Linked DNA regions of Homo sapiens: regions 1, 2, 4 and 5 are each linked to region 3. Evidence: promoter capture Hi-C in 16 types of primary human blood cells and fetal thymus (Javierre and others, 2016). All regions are on one chromosome and are shown on one strand. The core of a region is centred on a gene start or on the middle of the fragment in contact, and the rest is flanking DNA. Distances in the headings are between cores, read along the strand shown.

Region 1 (2,844 bases), core at 113-2,612, 190 kb before region 3:
TGCCCTAGAGTGGGGAAGAGTTGACATGGACCAACTTCAGCCACAGATACTAAGTAAGCGTCAGCAGGCTAGAATTCTCTGGAGGTATGAAGCTTTGTTATACTTCAAATAATCTCATCCCAACAGGCAATTCTTGGCAAACAGGATGGTTTGCACCATGAACATTGAAAAGCATGCAGAGCCCATGGAAATGAACAATTCCCAGAAAGAAAGTTGAAAGGTGTTTACTGAGCACTGATCAACGTCAAAGACCTATTGCAGTAAGGCCTACAACCTACAGCAGCAAAGACCAAGCACTGCAGAGATGATCTTGGGGCACTGATCTGACATGCTTCTAGCAGCAAAGGGGAACACCTGGGACCCTGCGACGAGAGAGAGGTACCTGAGGCTGGGATTCCCCTGGTTTTATAGTAAGAAGCTTAGAGCATAGATCACTCTTTGCTGAGACACATGAACTATGCCCCTTCAAACTGTTTGTTACAGCTTAAAAAATGAGTCACACCAATGAACCATGGACCATACCACTGATTTAGAATCCTCACCCTTCAGCTAGAGGAGACAAGATGCACAATCATGAAACAAACACAAACATAATTAAGACAGGATTGGTAAGATGCTACCCGCAATTCAACAAAAATCAAAGAAAACAGAGGAACCCATGTATGTAGGAGCAGTCAGAGAAGGTCTGCAGAGGAGATGGGCCTTGAAGGATATATAATATGTAGATGGAAGACAAAAATTGTTCCACGTGTACAGAGGGCTATGTAATGGCATTTGAAGCAGGCAGGAAAATGAGCTGTGTGTAGAGAGGGGAATGGTGAGGAGGCCAATTAGAGCAAGGGGCTAGGAGACCTGCAGAAGATAACACTGGAATGAGAGATTGGACTCAGGATTTGGGGATCACCAACAACAAACTGAGGAGTAGTTCCCAGCCATTCAAGGTTGTGAGAAGAAAAATGGCATAAGGAACGCAGCATCTCAGAGACTGATCTGGCAATGTGTGGTGGGATAGAGCAGAAGGGAATGAAGTAAGGTTATTGAAGAGGTAGTAAGGATCCAGGCATGAGGTTACAAAGCACAAGCAAGAAATTGGAAGGCTCTTGGAGAGAAGGGGTGGGCATTTGCTTTCCACACTCACCTCCTCACCCTATGCCATGCCTCTGCAGTGTTCAATAGCGGCTGTGTTCCTCTGGGAACTGGTGGGTAGACCCAGCTCCATCGATCAGCTTTCTCTGAACTGGCAACCCAGAGCATTGCCCATCCCTTTTGTCCTTTCAATACTAGGAGTGGTAACAGCATCCCAATAGTTTAATACCTGGGAGCCTCCTCATCTCTTCCTGGTTTTCTGAACCATCCCTCTGTGTCTTTTTGGAATGGACCATCTGTGCCTTTGCAGACCCTGACTGATAGACACAACAAAAACATTTTGAAAGAGAAGTAGAGAAGTTATGGATTGGACTGGAAAAAAAAAAGAATGTTAATGAGTATAGTTTTGAGCATGGGAAATTAGAAAACAGGGCATGGAAATATAATGTATTGGTTAGGAGTAGACTCCATTAATTCAACGACATTGCCTGAGATGAATTTGTATCCTCCACTTAACAGCCATGTGATGTCATTTGTTGGGGGGCTGTTGCTTTAGCATTTCTAGGCTGAATTCCTTCAACTGTAAAATAAGAATAATAACTGTTTTAAGGTTTAAATAAGTTAATCCATATAAGGTACTTAAAATGGTGCCAGGTTTAATGCACATGCTTTGTGTTTTTCTATTATTATTGTTATTAAAATAATAATTAGATATTTTACTAATTGCAATTTTCTCAACTTTAAGTGAGTTCTTTCCCAATAGACCCCTCATCTTTCTTCAAAAATTTATTTCCATGTGGAAAACACTGATTATAAGCTCAGGCTTGTGCACTTTGAGTTTAATGGTGACCGTAAAATATTTAAATGGAAATTTCCAGGAAGAATTTGGAAATAAATACTGGCATTCATGTAAGAGGAAATGACAAAGGTATAGATAGATCTAAAAGAGCTTGTATGAAAGGGAGAGATGAAACTTTGAAAACAGATGACCTTTGCAAAGGGGAAAATGTATCAAAAGAACAGCAGAGTTCTAAGAAATAAGCATTGGAGAAACCCACAGTGAGAGGGTGGGAGGAAGACGAGAGGTGAAAAGGAAAAAAGAAGCAAAGGTGCTGGACTTTCCAGTATTACAGGAAATAAAGGAGCAAGAAATAGTAGAAATGACAAATGTCTTTGAACTTCACAGAGAGGTTACTTGGACCTTCAAGAGAAGAAGCTTGAAGAAATGGAGGGAGTGGAAGGGAGAAACAGGTATTTTTAAAAAACTAGAGAAAGCAGGTACAGTCAAGACTAGGTCACTCATGGTTTTTCCCAAGATGGAGTAGACATGGGCAAGAGAAAGGAATCAAAAGAGAAAAACTGAAGATTCTAGAGAAAGAAAAGACAAGTAAGATAGCAAGATGCCTCTGGGAAAACCTAAGAGGCTAGGATTAGAAATCAAATCAGAATTTCTTTAGAAATTAAAAATCAAAATTCCAAGTATTTGCAGGGTTTTCCTACCCTCAATGTGTTCTTTTCATTTATAACAAAGCTAGCTCTTAAGATTTTTAATTATTATGGTCCAGCTGTGAATTTGAGCTAATTTAAAAACAAAACAAAACACAAACATGGCAACCTATACTTGTTCACTTCACAATAACATTGTAGTTAAAAAATGTGGTCTCTAGGGTAAGACTGGTTGAGGTTAAAATCTTAACTTTGTCACTTACTAGCTACATGCTCTTGGGAAAGATTACATTTTTTAATACCTAAATTTCC
Region 2 (2,700 bases), core at 57-2,556, 150 kb before region 3:
AAGCAATTTGCTTATAAATGTCATGAAGCAATGTTGCCAAATGCCTAGCGAATATTATCAGGATCATATCTGGAAAGTGACCCTATTCAAAGTATTACTGAGCACTTATTAAATCAGCTATTGTCAATAACAGAAGAGTCCCAGATAATACTTATTTTGAACAGTCTCGCCGTGTTCAGACCAATCCTGCATAGACTAGAATTAAAACCTTTTACTTCCATGAAGTCTCAGGAGCCCAGGAGGTTTTCTGATGAACTGGCTTAAAGTTTGGGAGTCTTCAGAAAGTAAATAACAGCAAAGCCTGTTTCAAGTCAATTGGGACAGTAGGGGTCAGACCAGAGGGAATGGAGCCCAGGGAGAAATCAACTGTCACAGTGGCTTCGGGGTCACTAGATCCAATCTATTCGAGATTGTTACTGAGTAGAAAAGGTCTCTGGTTTTGCTTTTGTAACGGGTATGTAAGAAATACGTTAGCAGCCCTAGAGTAAGTCAACTTCTTAGTGATTGGGGTCACATCAATCAAATACGACATCAGAGCTTGAAGGTGCTCTAGAGGCTCAGCCAGCAGTCTCATTTCATAAAGGGCAGAATGTCGCTCCAGGGAGGCCATGTGACCTGCCCAATTAAAGTAAAATCATAAAGCAATCAGCAAGGGTGCTGACGGCAGTAACAGGCTTTTCTGGGCCCCTCACTCCCCACCCCCATGCTCACCCAGACATGATGTGATGTGGCCATGAGAAGCATCTCACCTGCAGGCTGTAACAGCCAAATGACAGACGCCCAAACTGGAAACAGTGACCATGGCAACATTTCTAAATATACACCTGGAGGAGGCATTGCAATTCTTTGAGTAAAGAGGTTGGTTAAGAAAAGTATCTGACTACACAGGCTTAAAGAGGTAAACAACATGTTTTTTTTTTTTGTTTTTTTTTTCCCCCATTTGGATATGTGAAATGAGAGCCTGGAAAAGAAGTAGCATCCCTTGGCCGGGTGCGGTGGCTCACGCCTGTAATCCCAGCACTTTGAGAGGCTGAGGCAGGTGGATCATTTGAGGTCAGAAGTTCAAGACCAGCCTGGCCAACATGATGAAACCCCATCTCTACTAAAAATACAAACATTAGCCAGGTGTGGTGGCACATGCCTGTAATCCTAGCTACTCAGGAGGTTGAGGCAGGAGAATCGCTTGAACCCAGAAGGCAGAGACTGCAGTGAGCTGAGACCGTGCAATTGCACTCCAGCCTAGGCGACAGCGCAAGAGTCTCAAAATAAAAAAAAAAACAAATGTATCATCCTATTTAATGTTAGACGGACCCTGTGTCTGGAGTGGAAGAAAGCAGCATCCTTCAAAGGCTGCCCAGGCTGGGGCTTGTGCTCAGAGATGACAACAGGTTGAAGGCAGATGTGGGCTGCCCCTGCCTTCCCCTGGCCACACACTGGGAGACACCATGTCCACGGGAAATGCCCTCCTAAGCAGACAGATAAATCTTGGTCATGGTGCACCCCTCCTGGGCAGCTTCCTTTGCCCCAGTGCCATGAAATCTGACTCTGAACTGCCAAATTCACCCAGTTTCAATCGCCTCCACTTTTCTGCCACTCTTCGCTGACAGCTTCATGGAAGATGGCTTATTCTCTCTTCCCTCTTAGGTAATAAATGTGTCACTTTAATTGGTGGACTGCTCTATGGTAGGCACTGTTCTAAGGGCTTTACGTGTATTAATATTTACTCTTCATGACAGCTGTAGGCTGGGCATGGTGATTACACCTGAAATCCCAGCACTTTGAGAGGCCAAGGTAGAAAGATTGCTTGAGCCCAGGAGTTCGAGACCAGCCTGGGCAACACAAGGAGACCCTGTCTCTATTTCATACTATAAATAAGTACTTTTAAAAATTCTATTAGGTGGATACTACTATTATTCCCATTTTATAGATGAGGAAACAGACCAGAGAGATTATGGTACCAAATATATATTTTAGTAGTGGGTTCTAGTGGTCCAGGAGATCATTTACCTGTTTAGTGTGTAACCCAAAGCAATAGTCTAATATTTGGGATTTCTTTCAGGAGATTTACAGGGAAAAGGATGGTGTCACTACTGGCTTATAAATGACCAAATGGGGGAAAAAAAAAATAGAACTGCTGATAGTCCTGTAATCTTGTAGCTGTAAAATTCACCTATGTGCAAGGTTGACTTTGGGGGAAGTCTGAGTGTCTGTCTACTCTTGAGTTCTCATGTTGGTAAAGAATAAAAAGAACACAGCTTAGCCAGGTGCAGTCACACACGCCTGTGATCTCAGCACTTTAGGAGGCCATAGCAGGAGGATTGCTTGAGCCCAGGAATTCAAGGCCAGCCTGGGCAACACAGTGAGACCCATATCTCTACAAAACATTTTTTTAAAGTAGCTGAGCATGGTGGTGCACACCAGCAGTCCCAGTTTCTTGGGAGGCTGAGGTGAGAGGACTGCTTGAGCCCAGGTGGTCAAAGCTGCAGTGAGCTGTGATTGCGCCACTGCACTCCAGCCTGGCTGACACAGCGAGAGCTTGTCTCTCTCTCTCTCTCTCTCTATATATATATATATATATATAAAATACATATATATAATACAAATATATATATAAACATATATATTCAATTAAATAAAAGAAGAGCATAGATTCACATGTACTTTTATACTAATCCTCAGGGAGAATTTCCAGCAGTTTTG
Region 3 (2,710 bases), core at 54-2,553:
TTGTGGGATGGCGTAACTATGCAGACTATATCAGTCAACAAATGCTGTACAGAGCTGACCAATGACTCATGAAATCTTCTGTGCGATCTCTCTCCTCAGTTTCAAACGATTCATTTATAATTGCACTAGGAAAATAGCCAACAGCTTGTCACATTCTTTACACTGTCTTGGCCCAGCTCTAAACAGATAGGTTTTGAAATTTTAACTTAAAATTTTAATCTTTATTTTAAAACATGTATATACATTGTGGTAAAATATCACTTAGGAAAAAGAAAAGTTATTGTAGATATATAAATTTCTTTCTTTTAAAATACCTTTTGATTATATAATAAAAATTCCCCAAATAAAGTCTGAAGTTAGAGTTTGTAATTAAAAACCTCCAAAGAGTAAAAGTAACTCTTTTTCTCTTCTCTCTTCATCTCCCCCCCAAAAAATAAGCCTTCACAGAAGATGATTTTGGCATTGGTTATGATGTTTTATTGGCATTTGGGGCTTTTAATCTTTGTCTTTAAACATAATAGTAGTGATAATGCTACAGTGCTTTTCTTTTCCTGTTTTGAGCTTCTAAATCCAGCTAAGTTATTTTCACTTACTGTTACAAGACAGAGAAGAGGCCGGGCTCTGTGGCTCACGCCTGTTATCTAGCACTTTGGGAGGCCGAGGGGGGCAGATTGCCTGAGCTCAGGAGTTAGACTAGCCTGCACAACGCGGTGAAACCCCGTCTCTACTAAAAATACAAAAAATTAGCCTGGCTTGGTGCTGTGTGCCTGTAGTCCCAGCTGCTCGGGAGGCTGAAGCAGGAGAATTGCTTGAACCCGGGAGGCGGAGGTTGCAGTGAGCCCAGATCGCGCCACTGCACCCCAGCCTGGGCGACAGAGCGAGACTCCGGCTCCAAAAAATAATAATAATAATAATAAGAGAGAGGAGAAAAAACTTATTTTTCTGTAGATAATATATTGAAATGCAGATGTAGTATAGACAGTTCTAAACCAGACAATGACATTTTAAAAATAAATTTAGCCAGTCGTTTACAGAAAAACAATGACATACTGATATTAGAATAGGTGTCTCCTATTAGTTGACAATGAGTGATACATAATTTAAAACTAAGGATGACAACAGTTTCACTATTAACTCTTATTATTGTAGAAACCTGGTAAAATTGAATTCCACACTAGATGGTATAGTTTAAGACTTAACGCCTCACATTCTGACCTCATTAAATAGAAATCTGTTTAATCTCTGCAAGGAAATATTTTGTCCAGGAACGCCTACGTTTGTGGCAGGTGGAGACAGCTTATTAGGCAGCCTGCTCTCCTCTTATGATGGCCTTGGTCCGGGATCGCAGGGCTCATTATGTCATGAGCATAGTTATTAGATGGGTTCACTGCTTTTCCTCCTCCTTGAGGGGGACCTTTGGCACACGCTGGGAGGCCATGAAAGCCAAGGCCACCGAGCTGCGGGTCTGCTGCGCGCGTAGGAAGCGAGAAGCTCGGGAATTCAAGCCCCCGCAAATGCGCGGGTCCACGAGGTAGGCTGAGCTCCGCGCCTGGGTAGAGGAGGAAGCGAGCAGGGTCCAGGGGCACGGCGGGAGGCTGAAGGGTTATTTACGGGGGTGCAGCTTTCCTCTGGGGTATCGCAGCAGCCTCCAGGCTGTGGGAGTCTTGTGGGGAAGCCTTGAGGCAGGCGGGACAGTGAAAGCGCAGCGGGGTGGCTTGGGAGCCCGCCCCGCCTCCTCCTCCCCCTCTCCACTCCCCTCCTCCCGCGCGTGCTCCCTCCCCATCCTCCTTTCCATCTCTTCCCCCTTCCCCCACTCCTTCCCCCTCTTCCTTCCCTCCACACCTCCTCTACTTCCTTTCCCTCTCCCCTTCCCCCCCATCCCCAACCTTCTCCCTATCCCCCTCCTCCCCATCTCCTTCCCCCTTCCCCTCCCCACCCCGTTCCCCACCCCCCTCCACTCGCGGCCCTCCCCGGCCCCCGCCCACGGATTCCCGCGCTTCGCCGGTTACCTGGGAGTCGCCATGGCAACGGACGCCGGGTTCCCGACTCCGACTCAGGAGAGCGAGCGGCTCCGCGGGAGGCGCACGTCCGGGGCTGCAATGGCGAACTGGGGCGACTCGCCTGAGACAGAGGAGGGCCGGAAGATCATGGAGGGCCTCGAGGCCTCTATTGAACAATTCCAGTTCAACCCCAGGTGACCAGCGGGAGAGGCAGTCCCCGCCGGCCCGCCCCGGAGCCCTCGCGCCCCGGCCCTCGCTCAACGCCTTTCCAGGCCCCTTGCTCCAGCCGCTGGGCTTCAGTTTTTTGTTTGTTTTTCGAGGGGATCACTGTCCGAAAAGAGCTGCAGTTTTCACTTCTTCAAGTGTATAGCTGGACACTAAGAGCACGGACTCTGGAGCCAGACTGCCCGGATTCCAGAATCTTGGCGACCCTCTCACAGGGGCCGTGAGTTAGGCGACTGACTGCTCTGTGCCTCAGTTTTCTCAGCGGGAAATAATCGTTCATGAATGATGAAGAGTAGTGCCTGCTTCATAGATCATAGTGAATATTAAATGAGCTAATCTAGGACACAGTACCCGTCTTAGTCCCCTCGGGCTGCTGTAACAAAACAACATAGGCTGGGTGGCTTATAAGCAACAGGAATTTGTTTCTCCCAGTTCTGGAGGCTGGGAAGCCCACTGGCAGATTCCAGGTCTGATGAGGGTCCCTT
Region 4 (2,846 bases), core at 107-2,606, 140 kb before region 3:
TACCCAGGAGGTGGAGGTTGCAGTGAACCATGATCACGCCACTGCACTCCAGCCTGGGCAATAGAGTGAGACCTTGTCTCAAGAAAAAAAAAAAAAGATTAAAGGCTACATGTGCAGGTTTGTTACATGGGTATATTGCATGATACTGAGACTTGAGATTCCAACAATTCTGTCACCCAGGCAGTGAGGATAGTACCTAACAGGTGGTTTTTCAGCCCATGCTCCCCTCCCTCCCTCCCCGTCTAGTACTCCCCAGTGTCTATTGTCTTTACATTCATGTGTATTCAATGTTTAGCTCCCACTTATGAGGGAGAACATCTGGTATTTGGTTTTCTATTATTGCATTAGTTCACTCAGGATAATGGCCTCCAGCTCCATCCATGTTGCTGCAAAGGACATGATTCCGTTCTTTTTAAGGCTGCATAGTATTCTATGGTATATATGTACCACATTTTCTTCATCCACACCACCATTGATGAGCACCAAGGTTGACTCCATGTCTTCGCTATTGTGAACAGCACTGCAATGAACACACGAGGACATGTGTCTTTTTAATACATCCACTTCTTATAACATCTATACACCACTGCTAATCATAGCAAACACCTCTGCAGCTTCATTGCTGTGCACTTTCTTGGTGCCTTGGGTAAAACTTCTTCCTCTGCCTCAAGTTCTTTACTTCTTTCTTACTCCCGTTTGATCAGCTCCTCATTGATAAATTCTTCAGCCTCAAAGCCAACAAGCTCATCCTCCTCATCAATGTCAAATTCCACCTGTTTCCCAAGCACTAATACACTGTTACTATTCCATCAACAGCAGGGTCTTTGTTAAAGCCTTTGAATGTGTTCACATATGTCTTCAAAGCTTTCTTCCAAAAGCAATTTATGCATTGCTGTGTGACTTCTTCCTGTGCTGCAGTCATGTTCTGGATAGCACTTAGAATGTTAGAACCTTTCCAAAACTCTAGGAGCATTTGGCCAGATTCAGTCATTTCAGCAGCCTGTGCAAACATCTGGTGTACATAGTATGCTATGAACCCAGCTCTTGTGCTTTAGTCCATTGGTTGAATTAGTGCAGTTTTGTTTGGTGGCAAATACACAACATTTACATCAGGATGCATGTCACCAATATGCTGTGCTTGCCCCAGAGCATTATCTAGCATCAGAAGAATCTTGCATGGGATGTTGTTTTGCCAATAGTATTCTCTTGCCTGTGGACTAAAACCGGTTTGAAACAAGTCTTTGCACAATGTTGATGTCATCCAGGCTTTCTTCTTATGGAAATAATAAATGGGAAATGTATGCTTGCTCACATTCTTGAATGCTCTATGGTTCTCTAACGGCAACCTCTTGGGCTTCAAGCAATCCTCCCACCTTAGCCTCCTGAGTAGCTACGACCACAGGTAAGCATCACCACACTTGACTAATTTTTTTATTTTTTGTGGAAATGGGGTCTCACCATGTTTCCCAGGCTCGTCTCAAACTCCTGAGCTCAAGCAATCCTGCAGCCTTGGCCTCTCAAAGTATGGGGATTATAAGCATGAGAAACCACACTTGGCCCCAAATTTTTAAAAGGACAGTTTCTACCATGTGCATATTGCTTTTGCACCATCCTAAAGTCAGAAAATTGTAAGCTGAACATTGAAAGTCGGGGCCATCTGTACTGCTTTTATGTCCTTGGTGTTTTATCTGTTTTATTTAAAATTGTGAAAAACGAAATGGGATAATGGCATAAAAGTTTCACATAAGAATTAAGAATTACTTTTAATGTAATTTGCAGAGCAAGTCTTAGCTTCGGGAATGCTGCAGAAGAATTTCTAAGAATGATTTTAGAAGTCAGAGAAGCTTTTTAAAAACTGATAAAATGTACACACAAAAAAGACAGTGCTAGGCTGGGCACAGTGGCTCATACCTGTAATCTCAGCACTTTGGGAGGCCAAGGAGAGTGGATCATTTGAGGTCAGGGGTTCAAGACCAACCTGGCCAACATGGTGAAACCCCGTCTTTGCTAAAAATACAAAAAAAATTAGCCAGACATGGTGTCACGTGCCTGTACTCCCAGCTACTCAGAAGGCTGAGGCAGGAGAATTGCTTGAATCCGGGAGACAGAGGTTGCAGTGGGCCGAGATCGTGTCACTGCACTCCAGACTGGTGACAGAGCGAGATTCTGTCTTAAAAAAAAAAAAAAAAAAAAAAACTGTGTTGCCTCCTTTTAGAAGAATCTCCACCATCCAGGAGCCCACCCAAAGACCAAGGACTTCCCTGAGGATTATGGACTCCCCTCAAAATCCCTGCCCTGGAAAGCCAATTTTTGATTTCAGAATAAAACATTGCTGTCCTGGGAGAACTTTCATCCAATTTCCCCATATAAGCCTAGGGACCCTGATATTCACCAGGCAGTTATTTTGTCCCCTCTCTCTTAGAGGGAAAAATGAGATTAACCGACCATGACCACTATTAAGCAACTTACCACAAGGCTCTGCAAGTCCTTTCCCAGAAGACAAATATTGCAACAAGGGGAGAACGTGTTCTGTTTGCCTGTAGAAATCCTCTCTTAATTTAAAATGTGTGCATGCACCCTCTCCAGTTAGGAAAGTTATTAGAGAAAATCGGCCCAATGAGCATGCCTCCAGGGAAGAGAAAGTGATGACTGGTGTCTTCTCACCTATATTTTTTATTCCAGGGGTGATAGTAGAGGGCAGAACACCACCACCTTATAAAGTAGATACTCACTCAGGGCCACCAAATTCAGTTGTGTGCTGCAGGCCAGTTCCTTTGTATATACCTCTGCCCAAGTAAACACAAGTCCAGGGCTGTTCAGAGATTTTATAAAGTACTATCTCATTT
Region 5 (2,700 bases), core at 125-2,624, 210 kb before region 3:
TCCCATTCTGGAACCCGACTTGTTCTTCCTCAACAACATTTAACTTGGAACTCTATTCCCTGCTAGGGTTAATCAGATAAATGTGTGCCAATTACGTATTAATCTCTGATTCTGGCTTACTCTATAATTCGATCAGATAACTTAATTCATAGAAAGAGGTAGATGAAAGCGACAATCACCTCAATAGCTACATCAGAGGAAGGAAGAGAAAGAGCCGAGTGTTTGAGACTCACAGAGGGAGGGAGAACTCTAGACGGCCCTAAAATTGCACCACAGAGAGGGCTGCACCCAAAGCGATCAGTTAGATTGTGATTCCAGGGAGGAGGACCTTTCCTCTGAGAGAAAAGTTCCGGGTAAAGTCCAATTTGCTGGAAGAGACCTTGAATTTAATGTTGTTATTGCACAAATATTATTAAATCAACTCAAGCTGCAAACCAGAACATTTTCATTTTTCATTAGCTTGATCTGTTTGCATAATGTGACTCATTAATCTTTTTCCCTGAACTAATCTTAGGTTGCAAAATAATTCCATCTCCCGGATCCCAGTCCAATCTTCAAGCTGTAACTAGCTTTCTAAAGATTTCCTTTACTGTAACGAACTCTTTCTTTGCTGACGTCACCTGTTACATAAGCAGCCAGATCAATATGAAATAATGACTTGGATTTACGGCATATCTGAAAATAACACATAGGGCAAGGACAACTGTTGAACAGTAAGGTATGCCAGCCATGTTCACATCCATTATTTTATTTAATTTCTATGATACCTGACAATATGTGCATTATATCCCCACTTTAGAGTTGAATAAAGAGAAATTCAGAGAGGTTAAGTGACTTGCTAAAGGTCACACACCTAGCAAGTGGTGAAACCAAGGTTTAAATTCAGGTCTGTCTGACTTCAGAACTTAGATGCATTCCTTCACATCCCATTCCACATGCAATTTAAAGCCAGAAGAATTAAATAAGAATCTGTCATTTTCACTAAAGATAAAACTGGAATAAATGACTCAAGTTTCAAAAGTTGGAAAGCTTTCTCTAAATAATAATGCCTGTGAGACACAGGATACGTAACCACAGGATGTCTTTAGGATACATATTAGAATAGGTTAGAAAGCCGTAAGGAAGTTTTTATCATGAGGTCTGTCTAAAAGCGGAGATTGGATTAAAGCAACATGCTTCTAAAGCACATATCTGATACTCACCTTTCTGTCTCTGCCTACTATTGTAAGACCGTTAAGTCATCAAGGTAGCACTCTCTAAAATGAATTTCTACATGTTCCCAATGGCGCCAATTAAGCTAAACCTAAGGAATTGCAGTGAACAGTGGCAGCAGCAGATCCTGAAGACTTGGACAGGTTGAGGTCGCCAAATTTCCCTATCCTTTGGAAGTGAAAAGAAATACAAAAAAAAATTATTGTCAATACTCACCATCGGTACAAGGAGATTGACCATCCAGGCCTTCTTTCTGACAACTGCCAGCCGCTCTCAATTTTGTAAAAAGTTGCCAATAAATAAGAAATAGCCTGTTTTTTGTCCATGTCCCAATTCTTTGCATGCACCACTCATTGCTGCTCTCATGCTCATTCCATTAGTTTAGGCATCAAATCATAAATGTAACTGAGATGGTATTTTGCTGTAGGTTCAGTAACATGCTATCACAACTCCTTAGTTTTAAACAATATATCATTCTCACCAATAAGAGACGACAATAAAGCTTAATAGCAAAAGCCATATGCCTGAAACCACAATTCTTTCCTTACCACGTATGAGCAGATGGCCCAGGCCTACTAGGATGATTCAAACTTAATACATGATTCTGAGTCATTTCCTTAGACATTTCCTCAGATGAGCAGAAAGGATTCTAGCTTGAACCTAAACTGTAGTCAGCTTAAGATTCAGGCATTCTGGTGGTATCCGGAAGGCCCCAATGGGACCCTAGAGTCTATTTATGCATGGAACCAAGACGGAAGAGGCTGGAAGTCAGGCACACAAGCTTGGTTCAATGTCAAGGCCCCAAGAACTATTGGCCAACTGGAGAGTAAGGAGGACATTGAGCATATCACTGAGCCCATCCAGCTACTCAACTGCATGCAGACAAGAGTGTGTTTAGAGCCCAAGGCAGCACTGCTCTGGCCAGGTGAGAGTATTACATGATGTTTGGGTACAAGGGGACAGACTCTCCGCACTTTGGTAGAGAATACAACATCTTCTGCAGCATCAGTGACACAGCAGGTAGACAGTCCATGTGGTTTGACCAAAGGGTAACCTGACTGTGCTGGGCACCTTCCTAGTGCCGTGGTGGGCATCAAAGAACAGTGCAGCAGGTCACCACAGGAGAGGCTTAGCAGGAGAGTGGGCGATATCAGGCTCTGCAAGGAACCAAAGAGGACTGTGCTTGAAAATCCACCAAAATTCCCCTGAGGGTTTCCTGAGATATTTGAGAAGAACATCAAAGAGAGAAATCGGGGGTCCTACAAGAGTTTGTTGTTGCAGAGAAGAGAAATATCACTGGCTACTGTTATCACCCTTTTGATTTAACCATTTAGGTGCCCTACGAAAACTAGGTTACAACCTGCTGTGCTGACATCTGAGATAATGGAAGGATACAACTGCAACCAAACCTTGGAGAAAGGCTGGGCACGGTGGCTCACACTTGTAAACCCAGTACTTTGAGAGGCTGAGGCAGGAGAATTGCTTGAG

What was found. The method cuts DNA at HindIII sites, captures the fragments that hold promoters and counts their contacts. A CHiCAGO score of 5 or more calls a contact.
Region 1: a contact is called between a fragment that was not itself captured here and the fragment with the promoter of C10orf67 in region 3, in 5 of 17 cell types (total B cells, monocytes, non-activated CD4 T cells and 2 more). The highest score is 5.9, in total B cells.
Region 2: a contact is called between a fragment that was not itself captured here and the fragment with the promoter of C10orf67 in region 3, in 1 of 17 cell types (monocytes). The highest score is 6.9, in monocytes.
Region 4: a contact is called between a fragment that was not itself captured here and the fragment with the promoter of C10orf67 in region 3, in 1 of 17 cell types (monocytes). The highest score is 5.9, in monocytes.
Region 5: a contact is called between a fragment that was not itself captured here and the fragment with the promoter of C10orf67 in region 3, in 2 of 17 cell types (monocytes and M0 macrophages). The highest score is 5.2, in monocytes.

What each region holds. Positions count from the first base shown.
Region 1 is chr10:23,536,776-23,539,619 of GRCh38, reverse strand. No RefSeq gene overlaps it. Among named protein-coding and RNA genes, the nearest start is that of OTUD1, 99 kb to the right of the region's middle. The HindIII fragment of the contact is 1,884 bases long and covers 421-2,304 here.
Region 2 is chr10:23,497,573-23,500,272 of GRCh38, reverse strand. No RefSeq gene overlaps it. Among named protein-coding and RNA genes, the nearest start is that of OTUD1, 60 kb to the right of the region's middle. The HindIII fragment of the contact is 3,870 bases long and covers 1-2,700 here.
Region 3 is chr10:23,343,390-23,346,099 of GRCh38, reverse strand. C10orf67 (chromosome 10 open reading frame 67) reads left to right here and starts at 1,303. Exons shown (of 16, transcript NM_001371909.1): 1 at 1,303-1,531. The coding sequence starts at 1,326. C10orf67-AS1 (C10orf67 antisense RNA 1) reads right to left here and starts at 2,143. Exons shown (of 2, transcript NR_155752.1): 1 at 2,010-2,143; 2 at 939-1,676. RefSeq lists a silencer at 1-180. The HindIII fragment of the contact is 9,174 bases long and covers 1-2,710 here.
Region 4 is chr10:23,479,925-23,482,770 of GRCh38, reverse strand. No RefSeq gene overlaps it. Among named protein-coding and RNA genes, the nearest start is that of OTUD1, 42 kb to the right of the region's middle. The HindIII fragment of the contact is 980 bases long and covers 867-1,846 here.
Region 5 is chr10:23,556,316-23,559,015 of GRCh38, reverse strand. It overlaps LOC105376454 (a long non-coding RNA gene), which reads right to left. Exons shown (of 9, transcript XR_930754.3): 4 at 1,203-1,380. Among named protein-coding and RNA genes, the nearest start is that of OTUD1, 120 kb to the right of the region's middle. The HindIII fragment of the contact is 685 bases long and covers 1,032-1,716 here.